2 separate regions of the Homo sapiens genome follow, and region 2 is linked to region 1. The links are contacts of gene promoters, found by promoter capture Hi-C in human tissues and cell types (Jung and others, 2019). All regions are on one chromosome and are shown on one strand. Each heading gives the region's core, a stretch centred on a gene start or on the middle of the fragment in contact. The rest is flanking DNA. Distances are from core to core; before and after follow the strand shown.

Evidence for each region. Contacts are between HindIII fragments. The study calls those that stand out against the background at their distance.
Region 2: a fragment that was not itself captured here is called in contact with the fragment with the promoter of IGSF9 in region 1 in 3 of the 25 tissues and cell types used here (hippocampus, mesendoderm cells and neural progenitor cells).

The regions. Positions count from the first base shown.
Region 1 is chr1:159,944,065-159,950,080 of GRCh38, reverse strand. It overlaps IGSF9 (immunoglobulin superfamily member 9), which reads left to right and starts at 4,468. Exons shown (of 21, transcript NM_001135050.2): 1 at 4,468-4,508. It overlaps LOC124904438 (a long non-coding RNA gene), which reads right to left. Exons shown (of 3, transcript XR_007066684.1): 2 at 3,629-3,929. RefSeq lists an enhancer at 3,845-4,345 and a silencer at 4,188-4,482. The HindIII fragment of the contact is 11,911 bases long and covers 2,831-6,016 here.
Region 2 is chr1:160,056,372-160,061,617 of GRCh38, reverse strand. The region is part of intron 1 of KCNJ10 (potassium inwardly rectifying channel subfamily J member 10); the gene reads left to right. Among named protein-coding and RNA genes, the nearest start is that of KCNJ10, 11 kb to the left of the region's middle. The HindIII fragment of the contact is 4,727 bases long and covers 160-4,886 here.

The DNA.
Region 1 (6,016 bases), core at 3,219-5,718:
CACCCAGGAGGAGAGTCTTGAGAGCGGCGTGGGGCAGGGCTGGAAGCCAAGAGTAGGGGTCTCCCTAGGTATTTGTGCAGGAGATGGAGCCCCTTGGGGCTTGGGAAGGAGGTAGTAAGGTTGGGAAACCAGCCCCAAGAGCTCCTAGTGCTGGTAAACTGGTCCCCTCTACTTTCTGAGGGCCTGAACCCTTGTCCCTCTGGAAGGCAGTCCCTTCTTGAGGCTGGTTCTCTGGGCTTCCCTTAGGCCCTGAGCAGTCTTGCTTCCAAAAAAGGCCAGCAGCCCCCAATCCCTTTGATTCCTTTTATATCTTTCCTAGGAGGCACCACTGCAGGGATGGGGACTGACTGGAAAGGCCACCTTGAGTCCATCTTGCACATAAAGAGGCAGCTCATTTCTCATGTTATTGCAGGATTGAATTCATAGAAAGTAAACAAAAGGATGAATAAATAAAGGAATGAATGTATGATAGGCCCAGGGATTTCCCTGGAAGTTGGCAAAGTTCCTTCTTCTTACAGCCGATCTCTGAGCAGAGAAGGGTTGAGGCCTCAAAAGAGGCCGAGCTTCTGGAAGAGGAAGGATGAGATCTTAAAGAAAGTTGAATATAAACTCAGAGAGGCACAAGCCGCTACCTCTGCAATATGCCAGGAACTTGGCAAGCACTGGGGAGGCAGAAGAGACACCTCTGCCTTCAAGGAATGTTTTGTGGAGTGTGTAAAGATACAATAACAAGGTAGGAAAAGGGCTGGGGTGAAGGTGAGGGCGTGGTGGGAAAAGTCACGGAATGTGTCCTGAAGGGAACAGATCAACAGAAATTTGACCTGTGGCCAGCAGTGAGTCTGGAAAGGAGAAAAGGGCATTCTATCGAGACAGAAGCTAAGTGCTAAGACACTGGTATGTGAAAGAGCACAGTAGTTCTAAGGCCTGCAAAGTCATGCACACTGCGATAAAGGGATAAGTGAGAAACCAGGCTGGAAAAGTAAGCAGGGCCTTTCTGAAGCAGGAATTCAAAGACAAACAGGACAATATCCACACCCTTGTGGGGCTAAGTGTTTCATTGGGATAGAAGATAGGCACACAAAAAGTTAAATGACAATATATGAGAAACCGCACTTCTTTACGGATCTGGTAATAAGACTGCTGCTTACAGGCATGTGGTCAACAGAGTCCCTGGATGACAATCTTTTCTTTTCTTTTTTAACTCAGATATAACTTAATATATGCCTGATTAACAACATCCCTATTATCGATTATTAAAGCCACCCTTTCTATTCTAGAATATGGGATAGTTATGTGGTGCTTAATTGGTACAAGCAATGTTAACACATCAAATGTGGTCACTACTAAAAGCCCATGTGTTCCACCTTTCAGGGTTCATTTGATATCAAGTAATTCTCTGCTTATCTATAGACAATGAGAAACTTTGCTGATTAGGAACACCTGTGCTTAACGATGCCAAGCAGACATCTCTGAGGTCACACCATCTTCTTTGTGCAGGGCTATGGAGCAGCTCAGGTCCTTTCTTCCCAAGGCCTGCTGAAATATTAGGTATACACCAGGAAGACAGAACCAATAAGATAGATAGATACAGATATAGAAATATGAGATGGGATTTATTAGGGGAATTGGCTTACATGATGGTGGAGGCCAAGTCCTACAACATGCACAAAGAAGGCCCTGGGATGGCAAAAGTGTGGCTCAGTCCAACTCCAAAAGCCTCACAACCAGGGAGGCCAATGGTATAACTCACAGTCCCAAGTCTGGAGAGCCTGGAGTTTTGATGTTCAAAGGCAAGAGGAGGAGAATACCCCAGCTCTGAGAGACAGAGAGAGAGACAGAGAGAGAAAAGAAGAAGAAGGAGAAGGAGGAGGAGGAGGAGGAGGAGGAGGAGGAAAAGCAGCAGCAGAGGAGGAGGAGGAGAAGGAGGAGGAGGAGGAAAGAGGAAAGAAGAAAGCAGGAGAAGGAGAAGAAGGAGGAAGAAGAGGAGGAGGAGGAGGAGGGGGAGAGAGAGAATATTTTCTGATATCCTTGTCAGCAATTTGAAAATATGGGGGCTGCCTGATACTTAGGTTAGGTGGAATCCTCGTTGGTTGAATAAGCTTTCCCAGAGAGTAATGACTATGAATCAAGGACAACCTAGAGGAAAGTCTTTTGTTTTGAACCTCAGGGACTATTTTTTAAATCAGCTTTCACTCCTGGCACAGTGAGGGAACAAGTTATAGGGCTAGGTTCCTTTTCTTAACAAAAAATCTCCAATATACATATAAATCAGACAAAAAATGGCAATAACAATAAAAGTCACAAAATAAGTTTCCAGAAAAAAAAGGCCATATCATAAACTTTTAAAAATTGAAAACCATTTTAAATGTCATTTAACAGAAAGTTATTTTAATGTCTAAATGAGATTAGTTTATCCTCAAGAAACCACTGGAGACAGCAGTTTAGATCAAAGGTGTGGCCAATTCTAACAGCGGGGAGGGAGATCCTTCCCAATGATTGGTAAAGATCCAAAGACTAAAAAACACTTGGCTCGGCCGGGGGCAGTGGCTCACACCTGTAATCCCAGCATTTTGGGAGGCCGAGGTGGGTGGATCATGAGGTCAGGAGTTCAAGACCAGCCTGGTCAAGATGGTGAAACCCCATCTCTACTAAAAATACAAAAATTAGCCAGGCATGGTGGTGGCCGCCTGTAATCACAGCTGCTTGGGAGGCTGAAGCAGGAGAATCGCTTGAACCCGGGAGGTGGAGGTTGCAGTGAGCCGAGATTGCACCACTGCACTCCAGCCTGGGCGATAGAGTGAGACTCTGTCAAAACAAAAAAACAAACAAACAAAAAACCCGCTTCACTCTTTTACCATTTCTTCTAGCCTTGCTTCCATGCTGCATTCATTAACATGTTTCCATTATAGTCTTATCAATAGATCAGGGTATTATGTTGAAATGCATTGTTGAAAAGCTGCTACTTTGGGACTATTTGCAGGAGGGATGGTGGGAGAGACTGGCCCACTGCTCCTGCCTCTTCCCTTCCATCTCAGTCACCCAAAAGCACTAAAACCTTTACACCTGGAAGAACTGTCCAGCAGGCAGAGCTTACTAAGGATGGAATGGGTACAACAGTAGTGCTGAGCTTCCTGGCCCAGGATGTAATGAGATAGGGGCTTGGATGACTACATGGAGAAATGATGTGCCAGGGATTCTGGGGCCAAGTAGTGCTTAGGCCCATCCTGGAGGTTCTCTCATGATGCTGCAGCAGTGATTCTGTGAGTCTGATGCCTGGTGCACTCAGTTTGAGTCTTAGTACTTCGGATTGGGATGAGATCAGCACGTTGCTTTCATGGAAGGCTTCCAAGGGAGCCAACTGAATGGGAAGGACCTGGACAGGCAATGTTGCTTAAGCCGACCCAGCATCCCTACAGCATCACCAGGCTGAGGAGGTGGAATCTCTGAGGGGCAAGATATGCAAGATATCTTTGTGTCTGAGGGCGAAGCCTCCAAGGGAGTAGGTTTGATGAAGTTTGGGTTGGGTCTCAATCCAGCTCTGCCATAACCTAGTTGGGAAAGCTTGGGCCAAGTTACTTCATCTCCCTGAGCCTCAGTTTTCTCATTAGTCAAAGGGAGCTCTACTTACTTCGCAGGGTTTCTGTGAAGGTTACACAAGAGTTATAAAGCATCTAGTCCAGGGTCTGGCACCCTGCATGGGTCCAGTAAGTGATCTTGTATTTCATTCCTCCCTTTCAATCTCCCGTGTCAGGATATCTGTCGTTTCTCCCCTCTGGGCCTGTTTCTCTGGGTCGTTGGTGCCAGAGCTGCCTTGGGAGCTGACTTGGCAACCCCACGCTCAGAGCACAGCCTTCCTCAGCTGCACACGGTGGGAGGCGCCTGGGCAAGATTTGGGAGCTCGCCAATGCAGACAGGTATTTCCAGTCCTGCTAGAGAAGCAATGGGTGGAGGTAGAAATGGGGATGGGGGAGGAGATCGGATGAGCCCGGGACCTGGGTGGATCCCCTGGGAGGAGGGCGGGGAGTCATGCTCCCCGCCTGGTTCTCCTACCCCCAGGCTCAGATTTCAACCCTCGCTGCCGCCTCTGTGGCGCGCCCGTTCGGGGAGCGGAGAGGGTCGCCCGTAGGTTCCGAAAGAAGGACGGCGTACCAGTAGCCTGGCAAGGGGCCAGCTCCCGCAGCCCTGGAGCGCGAGCCGGACCCTGCTGCCCCTCTTGCTGGCGGCGGGAAGCGGCCCACCGGCCTTTCCACGCTTGGCTGTGCAGAGGTCCACGAGGGGGCGACCTGAGCCCACGTGCAGCCGAGCTCTTCCCTCCTGAAACTACAACTCCCAGGCCGCTCAGGGGTCCCGCCCGCCTCGCCGTGCCTCTGGCGGCTCCAATTGGCCGCCGCGGGAGGGGGATTGGCGGTCTCCAGGGCGACGGGAGGCGCTCGGGGCATCCGAGGCGGGGAGGCGGGTCCGCCCCCTATTGTGTAGCGGCGAGAGTGGAGCCGAGCGGTGCGGAGCAGGTGAGGGAGGGGGCGTACTGGAGGTATAGAAGTGGTGGTGCTGGTAGTGCGGAGTTATGGGGGACAGGAGAAAGCGGGGAGTTCTAGAGAGAAGTGGAATTCGTTGCAGGAGTAGAACTAGGGGAGTTCTGGGGAGTGAAGTGGAATTCTTGGCGGGTGGGTGGGAGTTCCCGGAGAACTGCAGGAGTTCTGGAGGCAATGTGGGGGAGTTCTTGGTGGGTTCTAAGAGAAAGGAGGAGTTCCAGGGGACCAGAGAATGCGAGGGAGAAAGGAATTGTTGGGGGTGGGGTATCAGAATTGTATTGTGGGCTGATGCAGGAGAATCCCAGGGAGGGGAATTATCGGGAGGAGAGGATGGGGAGAAGTGGCTGGGGGGTGGGGAGACCAGAAGGGAGTTCTTTATAGTGCAGGAGACCTGCTGCAATTGGAGATCAGGTGCGAGAAGCTGGAATTGTGGGGGGATTGTGCGTAGTAGCGATAACTGGGAAGGGAGTAATGGGAGGACGAGGGAGTGGTGTGTGGGGAGACTAGAAGGGTGAGGAAATAGTGGAGGCCGGGGGAGTTGGAAAGATATTAAGAGACTGGGAGGAATTCTAGGGATGCCTAGTTACTCAGAGTCTCGGAAAACAACCAGGAGAGAACTAGGGGGTTCCTATATACTTGGAAAAAGGTTTTTCAGGGAAGTGTGGGAGAGCTGCCTGGAGGCAGTGGGAAACAGGGGGCTTGGTTGCTAGTGAATTGCCAGAAGTTAGACATACAGGATCATTAAGTAGAGGCAAGGATCAGACTCTGTGGAGGATGTTTTATAGTCTGTCCTGAACTTTGCGGCCAAGAGTGGGTTGGAGGACTCAGAGCAGAGTCCACTTGGCAGTGCCAGGCCCTGGCATGGACCCTCTGGCTCTCTGAGACTGCCCTAGGATCTGTGGGGCTGTCAGAAGCTCCTACCCTCCATGCCCCAGGGTTAATTTTGTACACTTCAGGGACTCACAGGCTTTTTTTTGGACCATGCCTCTGGGGTTGGGGAAGAAAGAGCTTGACAAACCCTGGCACCCCGAAGATATTGGAGGGGAGTGAGTGGGAGGGATTTGGGTGAGGTCCTTGGGTGGTGGTGCCTGGCAGGGGGAGGGCTGCTTGGCAGTATCGTGAGGAAGTGGCGCCAGCTGCCAGCCCCGGGACCTGTCCAGACCTGGAGGATGCTGCCTGGATCCCCCATACTGGCAGGTGGGGGAGGCAGCTCCTCCTCTCCCAAGTGCCTGACTCACTCACTGCCAAAGCAGTGTAGGGAGACTGAATGGAGAAAGGCCTCGGGTCCTCAGCTTCCAGAGTTTTTCATAGAGGCTGGGGAAATGGGACAAGGGATTGTATCGGGGTGTCCTGGGGACCACTTTCTGAGGCTTAAGCGCCCTGGATTTGCCCTTGACTGGCTCTCTGCCCCTGAGCAGATATCCTCAGGGCCCTTATTTGTCACAGAGGGGTGAAGGCGACAGCACTGGTTCCATCTTGCTGCT
Region 2 (5,246 bases), core at 1,274-3,773, 110 kb before region 1:
GGGGCTAAGAATGTCCCGCTGCCCCAGACTGCACCTGCTTATACGTTAACCATGGACACAGCCTCTTGCTGCACTCTAAGCAATGCTCCCATTCCTGCCTCAACCATGGAAGCAGTTAGGTGGGCCAGGCCCCCCACCCCAGAGCTGAGTCAAGTACCCTGGACTGAGCTCTATGTGAATAACTAAAGCCCCACCTGGCCTCGCTGGCACAGGTCCAGTGTGTCCGTCTTTGCATTTGCCCAGGGCACATAGATATTTCCTAGCCCTTCCTGGCCCTGGGAGGTAGATGGAACAGTTATCATTTTCCCAGCAAGGCTCTGAGAGGTAAGATGATGGTGTCCAGGCAGCTGGTGGCAAGTCTGGGACTAGAATGGAGGTCTCTCACCGCTAGTTTTTTTGTGTTTTTCCCCCAACTATTTGTCTCTTGGTTTCACTCAGATGACCCCACCCCCAACCCTATCTACAATTCCAACAGAGCTGTCTTTTAGCCACCTTTTTTTGGGAAGGAGTGGGGGCATGGTGAGGGGAAGGGGTGGGGAGAAGAACGGGTCTAGGAGCCTTAAGTGGGCTTCTGGGTCTAGAAAGAACCTCCGAAGGTCACTTTGACCCTTGCACTACCCCTAGGCAGAGTGAGCCTACCTCCTTTCACTTCCCACCCTCCTACCGGCCCCACTCCTGCTACGAACTCTGGATCACTGGAAAGTAACCCCACAGCCTTCTTAGCTAGGGTTTGGAGTTGGGGATCTCTATCAATTATAAGTCCTTCATGCTGCCTAGTACTGGCCTTTCCAGTTATTATCCTACGTCTGCACGAGGATCTGTAGGCTGTATCTACGGCTCACCTGCTATTCTGGTCCAGAGCATCTTCTAGCAGTTGGGAGCAGATGCCCTAAAAAGGGAAGAGAGGAAGGCCCATTGGGATCCCAGAGACTTGAGGGCTGACTGCACAGTGGTGTGCTGGGGCCTGGGAGGGTGGATGGGGTCACAGTTGCAGAAACTCTGTTAGATAGAGAACTAAGCTGATATTGGTTTGCTCATCAGCAAATATTATTGAGTGCTAATCTCCATGATGTTTCCTCCCATCAAAATTGCATGGGAGAACCTCAGGGCCCTTCTACTCCTTCTCCTTTCCCCTCATCTAAAATGCTTCCCCTCTGGCTACTGGATTCTCCTTAAGCCGCCTCATCCATCTGTCTTCCTTCATGCAGGAACACACCTCCCCCAGCCCTTATACTCTGGTGTGATTCTTTTGCTCCAAATGTTCCCTACTGGAGAAAGAGAACTGCTCAATGTATGTAACTTCAGCTTTCCCTGCTGTGCTCGGGCAGTTAGTTACTATAGGAGACAGAGGACAGTGAGACACTCACCTCTGAATCTAGTTCTGTATCTAGTAAGTGTCCTCATGCCATCCCTACCCCATCCTCCTTCTTAAGGGAGGAATGTGGATAAGGAATAAGTAAAAAGTTGAGAGGGGGCAGAGAGATTGCCTCCCAGAGTCATGGTGAGCTCCCTAGACTCCTCTGAGTGAGGGTCAGAGGCTGCTCTTCATGCAGGGAACAGGAGCCCCAAGAAGGAAAGGGAGCTGAGAGGACACCTGTCAGGGAAACAGGCTCAATTTTCTGAATATGAATGACAGGTACAGAGTACCTCTGTGTCTCCAGCTCCATTAAGGGTACAAATAGGAAGAAATTGCTCAGATAGCAACAGGTAAATTTTGACTTAACTGGAAGAATTCCCTGGGCATAAGGGGAGGGACAGAAAGAGGTGGAGAACTCATTGCCTTGATGAGAAGGAAAAGTCCCCCTTTAGTCACCTACTGAACAAAGCTTGAGTGGCCTGGAAGATAGTTCCAATGACTCTCAGAGCCCCTGTGGGGTTTCCAGCGGCCTCAAAGGAATCCCTTGATCATTTCCACAGACCCCAGTAAGAGCATTGCTGAATGTCTCCTCCTCGTGGACCTCACTATTTGCTGCTTATTCTAACTCTTCTTGTTGGGCCAGCTTCTGCAGGGGTGAGGGAGACCCTGAGACCTACTAGGTGGGAGGCCCAGATTGAAGATAATGGGCTGTGGCTGTGGCTGTGGTTGGCTGGGGAAGAGTTTCTGTGGATAATGCTCCAAGGTTGGCTCCACAGAAACTGGCACTTTTGGACCCCAGGGTGAGGAAAAGGATCTTGTAGGAAGAGATAAGTTGAGATGAAGAAGAAGACCAGGGTTGTTGCTCTGATTCTGATGTAAAATAACATGAGCTACCAGCTAGCAGTGTGATCTTGGGAAAGTTACCCCCCTCTTCTAGGCCTTGGCTTCCTCTTTAGTAAAATGTGGGTATTAAACGTGATGACCATAGAGGACTTCCCAGCATGAATACTCTGTGACACAGTCCAGTAGCAAGTTGAGAAGCCCAGACTTTAAGCAGATTTAAGCAGGCCTGGGTTCAACTTGCAGTGCACCCCTTACGAGCAGTCCTCCTGGGCAAGTTAGTTAACCCATGTAAGTCTAGTTTCCACCCGTTCATCTGAGGGCAATGCTATTGCCCCCCTAGGGAGGCTAGGATGAAGCACGGCATGGAGCGTCCAGCACAATGCCTGGCGCACCGTAAAGCCTGAGGTAGGAAGTTCATGGTACTGTGGGAACACAGGGGGATAGCAGCCCATGTTGTGGGTGGGGGCATCCAGAAAGGCTTTCCAGAGAAAGTGACATCTAAGCTGAAGCCTGAAGGAGGAGTAGAAATTAAGCAAAGTGGGAAAGGAAGAGTGTTCCATGGAAGAGACCCCATTATTTGCTAAGAAAAGCTTGGTCTGTTCAAGAACCGAGAGGTTTTGTGTGGCTGGGGACATGATGCATGCGTGAAGTGGGTGGGTACAGATAGAGAACACTGATGCTAGGGAGGTCAGCAGAGACCAGGTCATAAAGGACTCTGTTCCACCAGTAATTCTAGGGACTTCAGAGATAGGGTCCCTCCACTTCCTCTCCTCTTCTTCCTACTTTTCATTCATCCTTTCTCCCAAGACTAATTTCTCTTGTCCTTGGTCACACGAGCACAAGGAAGCATTGGGCTCCCCTAGGACGACCTGGCCAGTGCAGGAAGAAGCTTTAAGTTCAGAGTTGTCTGCCTCTGGACAAGTTTTGGCTTAGGCCTGAAGTTTTCTGCCTCTGTCCTTTCTCACCACTAGAGAGAGATGTGCCTTCCACAGAAGACCCTGGATTTTATCACTGAGGCACTCCTACTAAGCACTCCCACAGTGGGCCTCAGTTTCCCCATCTGCCCCTCTCATTGTAGAGAGTAGGGAGAGTGTTGACAGGGTGGGGCTGAGCACAGCCTGCAGAGAAGAGCTAGGGAAACTGACTCAGTGCCCCCAAGTGTCCAAACGTTGAAACTTCAATGGGAAGCTCAGAGGAAGGACTTCCGAAGGATGAAGTGGGTGGCACATGGAAAAGGGGGCCTGAAGGAGGAAAAGTGATGTAGAACATCAATCCTACAGGCTCTTTAAAGTCAAGAAATGCCAGGCACTGAGAAGGACACAAAGATGAACAAAATACAGATTAAGAAGCAGTCCAGAAAAGGTTCTCTGTTTGGGAAGATGGGGATGGTCCTTCCTGGAAGGCACAGAGCTGATGAAACAGCCTCTACAGGAGTTGGCCCTGGGGGTGCTCTCACAATGGGGAGTAGCTCTTCTGCCTCCCCTACCCGCCACTACCTCTTGGGCCCTCCACCCCCTAGGTCCAAGCCTCCCCTCATTTCCAGCCAACACCACTTCAAGTTCAAAGACAGGAAAGTGTACAGAGAAGGGCCCTTCAGCTGGGATCTGGTCAGCCTCCCCCGCCCTTCTCTCAGGTGGAGAACCCTGTCTTGGCCCTGGGACTCCAAGGAATAGGTCTCATCATACCCTCCCTAGTTTCTCAAACTCTTCTGGTAGATCAGGTGACAACTCATTAGCCTTCAGCCCAAGAACATTATCTCCAGGGCCCTGGCCATCCTAGGCCTTGAGAAGGCTGCCAGCTGCCTGATACTCCTGAGGCTGGGGGCAGACAAGAGGGCGAGAGGCTGAGGGATAGTAATTAAGGAACTTGGCTCTACTCAGCAGTCTTCAGCACACACTTGCCCACCTCTTGGCAGGCTGAGAGGGTTTTGGAGGAATTATAGAGAGGTGGGATAAAGAATAGTGGGTTGGAAGTCCCCTTCAATTCTGGGGCTAGAGTAAATCTTACCCCACAACTCACCTGGAGAAAGGAGATCGAAGGGATGGTGTAACTTGAGCATCATCAAGGCCACTGGGGTGTGGAGAGGCAACGTGAGGGAAAAGCCCACAGGATTTGGAGACATGGGGTCTGGCTTTGCCATTAAATAAACGTCAGCAAGTGACTTTATGTCTCTGAACCTTAGTTTCTCTGATTCAGTAATATTTTTCATTCATCTGCAAAGTAGGATAATAACATCTTTATTTGCATAAGGGCCTTACAGATTTCATATACTTTAAATCTTGTAATCCTGACCACATAGTGGAAGGTTTTATTGCCTCCTTAGATGAGGAAGCTGAGCTCTAGAGAGATTAAGAGATTGACTGAAGTTCCCCTAGCTAGTAAGTGACACAGACAGGATGGCAAATAGCGGGAAAGGAGAATACATAGGGACCTTTGTGACTCAGACATGCCAGGATAAGAAATAGGTTTCATTTGTTGGGCTAACTCCATTTGATTGAAAATGACTCTCTGTATCACCATATTGAGGATGATTCTGAGGCTCAGTCAGATAAAAAGCACTGTGATGAATTAGTGTTATCTGCTAAGGGGTGGTGGGGTGATGAGTGATGGCTCACATGCTGTATAGTTGACATTCCTAGCCCAGAATCACCCAGAGATTCTAATTCCTCCCTCTTTACTAACCAATTAGGTTAAATTTAAAGGTAACAGCTTACAAAGGTGACTAAAATACAGTCTGTGCCTTCAAAGAGCTCACAATCTCTAGAGGAGAACAAAGGATGATGTGGCAAATGTCCCGGGAACATAGAGGGAGAGTAACTATTTCTACCTGGGAGGTGGGGAAGGCTCCACAGTGGAGAGAGCACTGGGGAAGGGCCTTGAAGGAGGAAGGGGATTTGAAAGGGAAGACAGCAGTCTGGAGGGGAGTCTTGGAGCAGGCAGAGGATGTTCTAGGTAGAGCGAGCTGCCCGAGCAAAGACAGGGAGACAGACAAGTGGAGCACAGGCTATGTTTCACGTGGCTAGAATATGGGCTGCACAGGGAAAAT